3 separate regions of the Homo sapiens genome follow, and regions 2 and 3 are each linked to region 1. The links are contacts of gene promoters, found by promoter capture Hi-C in blood cells and fetal thymus (Javierre and others, 2016). All regions are on one chromosome and are shown on one strand. The core of a region is centred on a gene start or on the middle of the fragment in contact, and the rest is flanking DNA. Distances in the headings are between cores, read along the strand shown.

What was found. Contacts are between HindIII fragments. The CHiCAGO score rates a contact against its expected background, and 5 or more counts as called.
Region 2: a fragment that was not itself captured here is called in contact with the fragment with the promoter of FBLIM1 in region 1 in 3 of 17 cell types (M1 macrophages, erythroblasts and M0 macrophages); the score reaches 6.2 in M1 macrophages.
Region 3: a contact is called between a fragment that was not itself captured here and the fragment with the promoter of FBLIM1 in region 1, in 4 of 17 cell types (M2 macrophages, M0 macrophages, endothelial precursors and 1 more). The highest score is 7.3, in M2 macrophages.

The regions. Positions count from the first base shown.
Region 1 is chr1:15,757,273-15,760,618 of GRCh38, reverse strand. It overlaps FBLIM1 (filamin binding LIM protein 1), which reads right to left and starts at 1,824. Exons shown (of 9, transcript NM_017556.4): 1 at 1,771-1,824. RefSeq lists an enhancer at 1-15. The HindIII fragment of the contact is 4,964 bases long and covers 378-3,346 here.
Region 2 is chr1:15,990,714-15,994,059 of GRCh38, reverse strand. No RefSeq gene overlaps it. Among named protein-coding and RNA genes, the nearest start is that of SRARP, 12 kb to the left of the region's middle. RefSeq lists an enhancer at 1-164. The HindIII fragment of the contact is 5,362 bases long and covers 1-3,346 here.
Region 3 is chr1:15,565,061-15,568,406 of GRCh38, reverse strand. It overlaps DNAJC16 (DnaJ heat shock protein family (Hsp40) member C16), which reads right to left. Exons shown (of 15, transcript NM_015291.4): 12 at 2,408-2,488; 13 at 2,227-2,325; 14 at 1,138-1,308; 15 at 1-629. The coding sequence ends at 230. Among named protein-coding and RNA genes, the nearest start is that of AGMAT, 18 kb to the left of the region's middle. The HindIII fragment of the contact is 1,321 bases long and covers 929-2,249 here.

The sequences.
Region 1 (3,346 bases), core at 575-3,074:
CTCCTTGTTCCCTACAAAGAAAAAAAAAAACAAAAAAACCTCTGGGGCCACCTCTAAGCTCTGTTCTTTTTTTTTTTTTTTTTTTTTCTGAGACAGAATCTTGCTCTGTGGCCGAGGCTGGAGTGCAGTGGCGCAATCTCAGCTCACTGAAACCTCCACCTCCCAGGTTCAAGCGATTGTCCTGCCTCAGCCTCCTGAGTAGCTGGGACCACAGGCACACGCCACCACCCCTGGCTAATTTTTGTATTTTTGGTAGAGACAGGGTTTCACCATGTTGACCAGGCTGGTCTCAAACTCCTGACCTCAAGTGATCCGCCCTCCTCGGCCTCCCAGAGTGCTGGGATTACAGGCTTGAGCCACTACACCCGGCTTAAGCTTTGTTATTTATTTATTTATTTTGAGACAGAGTCTCATTCTGTGGCCCAGGCTGCGCAGTGGTGCGATCTCGGCTCACTGCAACCTCCGCCTCCTGGGTTCAAGCGATTCTCGTGCCTCAGCCGCCGAATAGCTGGGATTACAGGCGCGCGCCACCACACCCGGCTAATTTTTGTATTTTTAGTAGAGACGGGGTTTCACCACGTTGGCCAGGCTGGTCTCCAACTCCTGACTTCAGGTAATCCGCCCGCCTCGGCCTCCCAAAGTGCTGGGATTACAGGCGTGAGCCACCGCTCCCGGCCAGCTTTGTTCTTTAATGACCGGATAAAGCAGTCTACCTTTGGGTACGGAATTAAATTTAGGCAGAAGTGGCGGGGTGTGCCCCAACCCCTCCCACCCTGCAACTTAGGGGAGGGGTTCCCTCAACCTCTTTCCCACCCCAGGGAAACAGAGGAGGTAGAGAGCTGGGTTCACACGCGGCCCCACTTCTTTCCTGCGGGGTGACCCCGAATAGGTCACAGAAACTCTCTGGCCTCGTTTTTTCATAAAGTGAGAATGAGTGTGTCCCTAGGGCGGCTGAGAGGATATATAAGGAAAGAAGACTCAGGGTCTAGGCCCTTGGAAGGTGCAAAGAGAAGGACAGCTGGTTAGGCAGCAGCTGAGAGGGAGAAGCAGCCCGGGGGCTGGGCTCGGCTGGGGGTGCCTCCAGGACCCGGACAGAACCTACAGCGTCATTAAGAGCAGGAATCTGGGCGCGGCCCCAGCCTCTCCCCGGGGTCCTCAGGCTTGGGTGGGAGGTGAGGGGTAGGGGCCGACGCCAAGATCATCCCAGGGCACACACCTGGGTATCGCCCATCTCCACACCTTCTCAGCCCCCGACGGGCGCGTGAGGCCCAGAGAGGAGCAGCCCCGGGACCCGTCCCTCCCCTTGCCTGACCCTGGCTAGGAAAAGGGGCCTGGAGCGCCCCCGGGCTCCGGAAACGCGGGACCCTCCGCAGGCAGCCGAGCAGGGCGGCCGCCGGGGTCACCGCTGGGCGCCGCCGGAGCTTTAATTCGATCCATGTGCGGGACTCCGGCCTTTTGTGCGGGAGCTTCCGCCCTGCGCGCCGGGTCCCCGGCTCCCGCTCCCGGGCTGGGACTCGGCCCTCCGCCGGCCTCACTGAGCCCTCGCCCCGGACCTGCCGACTCCCCGACTCCGGGGAGAGAGACCAAGAGACTGGGACGCAAAGGGCGTGAGGACCGCACCCCCCACCCGCAGGCCCCTCCAGGGGCGCCGCGCCGGGGGTCCCGGCTGGCGACCGAGCAGGCTCCGGCCGAGCACTGCCGGCGCTGTCACCTGTGTGCACCGGGGACAGGGACGGAGGGACGCGACCCCCACCCACCCGGCCCGCTTACCTGGGCCGCCCGCGCCCCGGCGGCTCCGATCCGACGCCCGAGCCAGCGGAGCCCGGAGCCGCTGGGCCTCCCGTCCCCTCCGCCCGTCCGCCCTCCCCGCCCCCTCGGCTCCCTCCGCCCCGCCGCCCCGCGCCGCTTTACCATAAAAGGTGAGGCTCGGGGGGAGGGGGCGCGGGATTCCCGCCCCGCGGAAGCGGCCCCTACCTGCCCCCCAACCTGCCCGGCCGCGCCCCGCGCCGCCCCTTCCCCCTCCCTTTGTTCCCTGGACGACGCCTCCCCTCCCCCTTGGCACAGGCCAGGGGGTGGGAATGGGGGGGAATGGGGATGGGGGCGATGGGGGAATGGGAGGGATGGGGAGTGGGGGTAGGAGAATGGGGAGTCGGGGTGGGTTTCCTTCCCTCCCCGCTGCCCATCCCCTCGCGTTCTTCATGGACCCCGAGTGGTCCCTGCCGTCCCCCTTCCCTCGCTCTCCTGGGTTGGCAACCCCACCTACCCTGTCCGGCGGAGGTGAGCGCTTACTTTGGCTCTGGGATCCGCCAGGGTCTTGCGTCAAACCGACCAGGGTTCTGCGGCCGTTTACTAAGCGTGAGACCCGGAGCAGTCACGCCACCTCCTGAGCCTCAGTGTCTTCATCTGTAAAGTGGAGGTAGCCACTGCCTACCTCTCCAGGTTGGCCTGAGGATAAAAGGTGACAGTTACAGCCAGGACTGTGATTAATAGTGGTTAATATATGCTGGGTTGGGGGCTTTTTCCGGGAGTGTTCCTGAGGGTGGGGGTCTCGGAGACCCCCAGTGGAGCAGGTCACCTTGTTCTGCTCTCCTGAGCGGTAAGCCCTCTGCAGGTGGGTCCCGGTGTCCCGGGGGACAGGCCGCTCCAGGAGCTCTGGAAGGCAGGGCCCGGCTGGCCCTGTGGCTGAACCCCTCCCTCCACATCCAGTGACCCTCCCCCTCCCAGCTGGAGCAATTAGGACGGGAGCGGGAGGGGAGGCAGAGCCTGGACTCTGGGGCCCGGGATGGGGCCGGGATGGACTGCCTGGGTCCCTGGAGGCCTCAGGGACATTGTGGGGAAAGGAATCTGGGTCTGATTCAGAGGCAGACAGATTGTTCTTTTGATTAAAGCCACAGTGGCTGAGGCTTGAGGAGCGCTGGACCCAGCGCCATCTGCGGGGTGGCCAGACAGGATCTGGCCCGTCCTGCAACCCCTCAGCTACAGTCACCCCTCCAGGGTGGCTCTGGGGCTGTTTCTGAGGGAGGCTGGTTTATGAGGGTCAGAGGAGGCTGCCTCCGCCCTCACCCACTGATCATCGCCCCTCCCATCCCTCTTGTCGCCCCTTTTCCCATTTGATCCTCTCAGCCAAGCTGCAGTAACAGCAGCAGTCCCAGGAGCTGCCATTGATAGGGGCTTTCTAGGTGCTGGTACCCATCCTCATCCCCATCCTAATCCCACAAGAGCCATGAGCACCAGGGCTGATGATTCCTGTTCACGGTCAAGGACACTGAGGCCCCGAGAGGCTCAAGGCCACACTAGGGGCAAATGGCAGAGCCAAATTCAAACCAGAGCCGCTGTGTCCCTGGGC
Region 2 (3,346 bases), core at 491-2,990, 230 kb before region 1:
CTGCGGGGATGCCATGCTCACCTTTCTCTCTCGTGGCCTTGATGGGACTGGCTTCCCCATTGAACGGGATTTTCCGAGGTGTCTGGGGCTGTGGTGCAGCTTGCGGGGTGCCACCCTGACCCCTTCCAGACTTGCCAGTCACTGACCACCGAGCGGGCCAGACACAGGTGCCACGCTGCAGTCGGGGTATCTCCCGACCTCCCTTTTAGTCCTGATGGGCCTGGGCAGGGCCTGGTTTCGGGGTCCCCATGGGCTTCCTGGGCTAGGCTGTCCCATGGTCCTGGGGCTGTCCAGGACACATTTGGAAGGGACTTGGACCCAGCAGCTCTGTTCAAAATCATAACGGGGGGCAACGAGGGCCCCCCACATCCAGGTTCATAGGGATGGAGCCGTGGCATGGAGTTCCACTGGAGGAACCTCCAGGAAACCTGAGGTTCCCCCTGAGCCAGGGCCAGGCTGGGCACACCCTCAGTCCCCGGTGCCCCCAGAGAATGGCCTGCTGCCCTAGGTTCCATGGAAGCCCCCTCGTGCCACTGGGCCTTGGCCTCACAGATAGTCCCATCAGGACAGGGTATGAAAGGACGAGGCACCCATGGAGGGGAAGCTGACCAAACGGGCCACCCATGGCGGGGAAGCTGGCCAAATGGGCCACTGGAACCGAGTTGTTGGGCCAGGAGGGGCCTGCCTGTCCCCCTGCCAGAGGGTCTTCCTGCCAGGTGAAGCCAGCCCAGGCCTGGGTGCCAAGGACCCTTGCTCAGGTTTGGCTGAAAGAAACAGACGTGGTCAGCATCTCCAGTGAGCCCACGCAGTCCTTTCTTGGCCGGGCTCCACCTGCCTGGGTCTCTGGAGTCCTCAGGGTCTCTGTGTAGCCCCTGTGGTCTGACACTGAGGACACACCTGCAGGCTGCTGATCGCAGACGGAGGGGTCTGTGCCTCCTGTGGTGGGAAGCTGTCGGGGTGCAGCAGGTGGCTCCTGGGACTGCCCTCCCCCAGAGTTCAGGCTGGCTGGGGGCTTCCTGCCCCATGCCGTCATCCCAGGACTGTTGAGCCTGGGATACAGCCTCCAGTCAGAACTCAGGTGGGAGGGGCCTTGGCTGTCACCCAGTCCCCTCGCCACCTCACATGGAGACCTGTTTCCACGGTGGGTGAGAGAGCCCAGATACAGAGCCCCCTCTGCCCTCCTGGGCTGCCCAGTCCATGCCAGGACTGACCGTTCCCACACCTGGCTGAACTCTTGGCTCTGGCTCTGGGCCAGGGGTCCCCCCTGTGCCCACCCACTAAACGCCCTGGTCGGGGATCAGGGACATAGATTCCCTTGTCTCTCTGGCTCAAGGCTTGTTGTCCTGGCACCCTTGGAGGGGTGTTCAGGAGTGAGGAGCCTCTGCTGCTCTCTGAGGCTGTCAGTGCTCGCAGGGAGGGGTGGGGAGTCCCATAGATGGATCTGGTTCCTCCAATGACCCTGAGGGCCCTTTGAAGGGGAGAGTGGGACATGGTGGAAAGTGGGAGGGGGCTTGTTGGAGAGTCTTGCGCACATCCCCCTCCTGCTTGCACAGCACGTCCGGTACACACAAACTGACCACCTGCCCTGAGGACCTGGGGGCCTATTGTACTTTCTTAGAGTCCGGAGGAAGAGGAGGAAGAAAAGGCGAAGAGGAAGGCCCAAGTAGTAGTGTTGGAGGTCCTGGGCACTCCCCAACTACTGACTGCCCCAGGGGGTGACTCGGGAGGGTACCTGGTGCTGCAGGCCACCTGGGGGTGGCAGGTCCCCAGGCTTCCTTGTTTCCTCATAGAGGCCCAAGGGTGTCTGAGAACTGCATCATCATCCAGGGCCCAGGTATGGGAAAACTGGTCCTGAAAACATGCCCACGGCCACACCTGGATATCTTCACGAGGTGCTCTAGGGACAGGGTAGGCATCAGGCTAGGAGTGTTCCCTGGGAGGGGTCAGAGCCCATACCCCGTTACTACCTCAGCATCTCCCACTGGGGAGTGCCGGATCCCTTTGTGGCCACCCCAGGGGTCCAGATGTGCACAGGAGGCTGTGGCTAGGGGGCAGCCTGAGCAGGGAAGTGCTCACCACACTCCTGACTTTCATCTGGGTCATGTAGGGGATGGGCTCCCACAGGAGGGGGTATGTCACTGTTCCCTGCCCAGCCTACCCAGCCAGACCTCCCTCTGGGCCAGAGAAGAGGATCATGGGGACAGTGTGAGGAAGCTGCCACCGGGCCAGTCAGGGTCTGACCCCTGTGCTCCCCAGTCCCCATTGGGCACACGTGGACTTACTCCTCTGAACCTTAAAGGCAGTGCGTGCCATTGGCGTCAACACCTGTTCCCCTTCTAGCAAATACACGTCCCAAAGGCTCAGGGTGAGCCCGAGAGAGATCTGTGGGGACAGCAGGTGTGGGAGGACCTGGCCCTTCCAGGCTGGGGGCTGGTGGCTCGAGCCGGGCCCACTGGGGCTTCAGTCCCCCAGTCACTGACCCTTCCCATGAGGGTCATCAGACCCCTTCAGGAGGCTGGGTCAGACAAGGTCTTGCAGCTCCTCATGGGGGAGCACTCATTTCAGTGGGGATGTGGCTTCTGGAGAGAGGGGCTTCCCCAGGACTTGAGGCTTCCTTGAGCCCTCCCAAGTGGGTCCTGGCCCAGTCTGCCCATGAGGCTGGGCCTGAGTCCCAGCCTCTGCCGTGGGATGACCCCTCTTGGGCAGAGGGCTTTGCTTGTGTGTCCTGCAGATATCTGCCTGTGCCTCCTATGTGCTGGGGGTGAACCGGACCCCTGGGCGAAGAGCAGGGCCCTGTAGGGCAAGGAGGGTCCCTGAGCCAGGGTCTCCCTGTGCCTCCTTACCCCATTGATCAAGCTCCAAAGCAACCAACCTAATGAGGAACCCTGAATGCATAGCCCTTCCTTGTCCTGATGGGAGGAACAGAGGTGCTCAGGTCCCTCTGGGCTGCCCTAAAAACCTCCCTCTTCCAGGGCCCTCTGAAGACCCTTCCCCAAGTGCAGAACACTGGGCGGTGTCCAGGGCTCCTTACACCTTCCCCTCCCTGCACTCCTGGTGGACACACTGTCCTTAGCCCTGCTCTGTGGGAACTGGCCCCAGTCCCTGTGCCTCTGTCTCCTCCAGGGCAGGAAAGGAAACCCAACTCCAAATCCATGGAGAACCCCACGTCCCAGGTCAGGCCCTGGCTAGAACTCACCCTCTCACCAGCCCCATGAGGGTCTGGCAGCCCCTGGCTCCTCCGGCCCCACAGGATGCAGGGCCACTGGGGAAGAGCTGGGGGGACCATAAACTCACTGCGTGCCTCATGGTCTTGGGGTATGGCCTGGGTGCCACATGCTCCTGGTGG
Region 3 (3,346 bases), core at 340-2,839, 190 kb after region 1:
GGAAAAATAACACCCAGAGGAAAAGATTTTCATCTAGGCGATTCAAACTGGTGGTGTTTTTCATTCCTAGGTTAGAACAGGACAAAGGAAAGATTCTTCTAGCCATGGTTCTAGAAGAGCAATCTAAAATCTATACTCTGTTCATTGTGGTAGTTTGAGTCCTGAAAATACCTGTTCACAGGGGCATGTTAAAAAGTCTGAAGAGTTCAAATCTCTTTGGAAAATCCTCTCAGTCTAGTTCAGGCCATGATGGGATATAAAACCTCTGTAAGGAGCCCTCCAGCAGGCGTTCCATCCATAAAGAGAGCTTGCTCAACTTTCCTTTGATGGGCCTGGATCCAAGGCCACAGGAAGGTTTCCCTCGAGATTCACCCAGGTAGAGGGAAGAGTCAACATCACTGCACGACCCTATGGCTTCCTCCTCTTCGACTGTCTTTTGGGGCTTGAAGAGGCAGAAGTATTTCTTGTGGCCATTCAGAGCCAGTACATAACCAGTGTAGTCACGCTCCATGAAATGCTTATCATATTGGTTTGGGATTGGAGCTGCATCTTGAGCAAATTCTAGTAAGTATTCTAGCCATTCTCTGTGTTTATCTAGACTCAGGAAGGAGAAGTGTAGGCAGCTGCTCCTGTAGGAAGAAGAGAATTGAGGACTCAGGGCATTTCCTGACACATTTAATTGCTGAGAAAATAAATACCCCAGTGAGACTTAAAATAATAGGAAAACGCTTTGTGTTGGATGGGGCCTGAACACAGAGAAAAAGAAGGCCTTCTGTGGGAGCCAGTGCCTCTCCAGCAGCTGCGACACTTCAATCACCCATTCCCCCATCGCTTGCTCGGTGGAACTTAACATTGCTCTTCTGGAAAATACACAAGGGCTAGAGAACAGTAACTGAAAGGGCTCAGGGAATAACACTGAGTTCAAGCTTTTCTGTTCAGAACCAACAAAACACGAAGTGAAGTGGGAAAAGAGGTCCCTGTCGCAATGGCTCAGATGTCTGGATTGGAAAGGTCACAGCCAGCATCTTGCTGTATGGATGAAGCCCCACAAGACCAAAGAGAAAAGCGTGCAATTTCAGTGTGCCTGCCTCTCTCTCTCTCACACACATACATACATGCACACACACACATGCTTACCCAGTAAATGTGTAGACCTCCAAAGCAAATTTCTGTAGTAGGCTGGTCTTGGTAGAATTCGACAGGATGAGGACCACATTCATGTGGCCTGGCCTCAGACGTACCAAGTTACTGGTGTATGTTACATCTGTGAGTTCAGTTACCTCCACAAAGCCTTTTTTAGGAATCTTGCTGTGGAGAAATATTGAGGAGTTAAGATGCTGTCAGGATAGGGGGAAAGCCGTTACTTTGAAAAGAAACAGCTGAAAGAAAATGCTATGTTCTAACCAGACTAGGTATGTTATTCACTATTCTTGAGTCTAACACATTGGTAGGATGGGGATGGCCTGACTTGGTAATCCCTGACCTACAAACAGCCTTTCTGTGCTGCTTTTCTTTTTCTTTTTGAGATAGGTTCTTGCTCTGTTTTCCAGGCTTGAGTGCAGCGACATGATCATGGCTCACTGCAGCCTCGACCTCCTGGGCTCAAGTGATCCTCCTACCTCAGCCTCCCAAGTAGCTGGGACTACAGGTGCCTGCCACCACATCCAGCTAATTTTATAAGTTTTTTGTAGAGACAGGGTCTTGCCATGTTGCCTAAGCTAGTCTCAAACCCTGGGCTCAAGCAATCCTCCCACCTAGGCCTCCTAAAAGTCTTGGGATTACAGGCGTGAGCCACTGTGCCCTGCTTGATGCTGCTTTTCAGGTGCAGAAGTTGCTCTAGGACAGAATGAAGAAGACAACTATCATTCAGTCTATGTTCTTTGTCTCGGAGACCCTGGCCTCTTGCTGCTGGGTGTGTGTGCGCACAAGACTGGTTACGTTCATTGACATTTACAGGGATAAACCACGTCCTGCTTCTGGCTCACCTAACACTTGCCTGATAGGCTTCTTTCCTTCTGCCTTCATTATGAAATCTAAGGCATCTAAACACCTACAGGGTCTTAGTAAACACAAATCACAGTGACTTTTCCCTGTAGCCACAGTTTACATGGGAGGAGGTGCATGAGAGTTCTTCTCTACACTCTATGTTCCAATGCTGCGTTATCAGATGACAGGATCTGGGGGGCAGGTGCCGGGGAGGTGAGTCTGGTGTTTTGTTAGAGAAACCTGCTGTTTTCTTTGGTGAAGCTTGGCTCAGTTTTCCCAGTCTTCTCTTGGGCTTCCTCTTTTTCTGGAGGGCTTGACTCTCGCTCATCATTAGAGTCGCTAAAGTAAGAAAAAAGGAGTTTTACAAAAAAAGTGTCAACACCAACCATGGTGGTGCACCGAGAAGCCACAGGACATTTACCTGAAAGCCTGAACGATGACAGTGCCGAAGAGGATGAAGAGGGCAGAGAAGATCAGGGACAGCAGGGGCATCATTTCCCTCCTAAAACCAAATTAACAAACTATTAGCTCAAGTTAAAATTTCTTCTCTCCAGCTAAAAAAAGATAAAATAAAAATCCCAAACCAAAAACTCTTCACACCAATAAACGCTTACTAATTTCAGGCAAACAGAGCTTTTCTTGGCGGGTGGAGGTGGTGGAGGGGAAGGTAGAGATTGCTCAGTGTTCTAATTCACAGACAGCTTATTCTAAAAGTTTGATTTTGTATCTCAGTATAATAGGCTATGCTCAATAAGTTCTGCATGAGGAAACAATAAAAGGGATAATAAAGGACTTAAGGTGTAAACATGGAAGAATTTTCTGACATTGTGGAATTATTTCCTCAACTTTACTGATTTTTTTCTGGCCAGAAAAATTCAGATGTAGCCCAGAGGGGTGGAGTAGGGAGATAAAATTGATCTTTCAAGATTTCATCTAGGACTGGTGTTCTGAAATTTTATGTACCTACCAACACCCATCAAAGGCTGTCATTTGTCAGGTGCTGTGTTGGGTGCCAGGAATCACAAACACGAATGAGATGTGGTTCTGTCCTTCAGGGGCTCATGGTCTCATCAGTAGGTGGGAGTGGGTATCCCTCTTGAGGTTAATTCACTCATTCCTTTTACATCTATACACTGGACTCCACGTGTGTCAGGCCCTGTGCTGGGCACCAGAGGTTCCCTGATGAAGAGACAGTCCCAGGCTCTGCTGCCCAGAATGGCAGCCATGGGTGATCCTTTCCTAGCCAGTGGGAAAGGGTCAGTCAGCCAATATAAAAAAAGGGAAGTGGCCGGGCATGGTGGCACACGCCTGTAATCCCAGCACTTTGGGAGGCTGAGGTGGGTGGATCACCTGAGGTCAG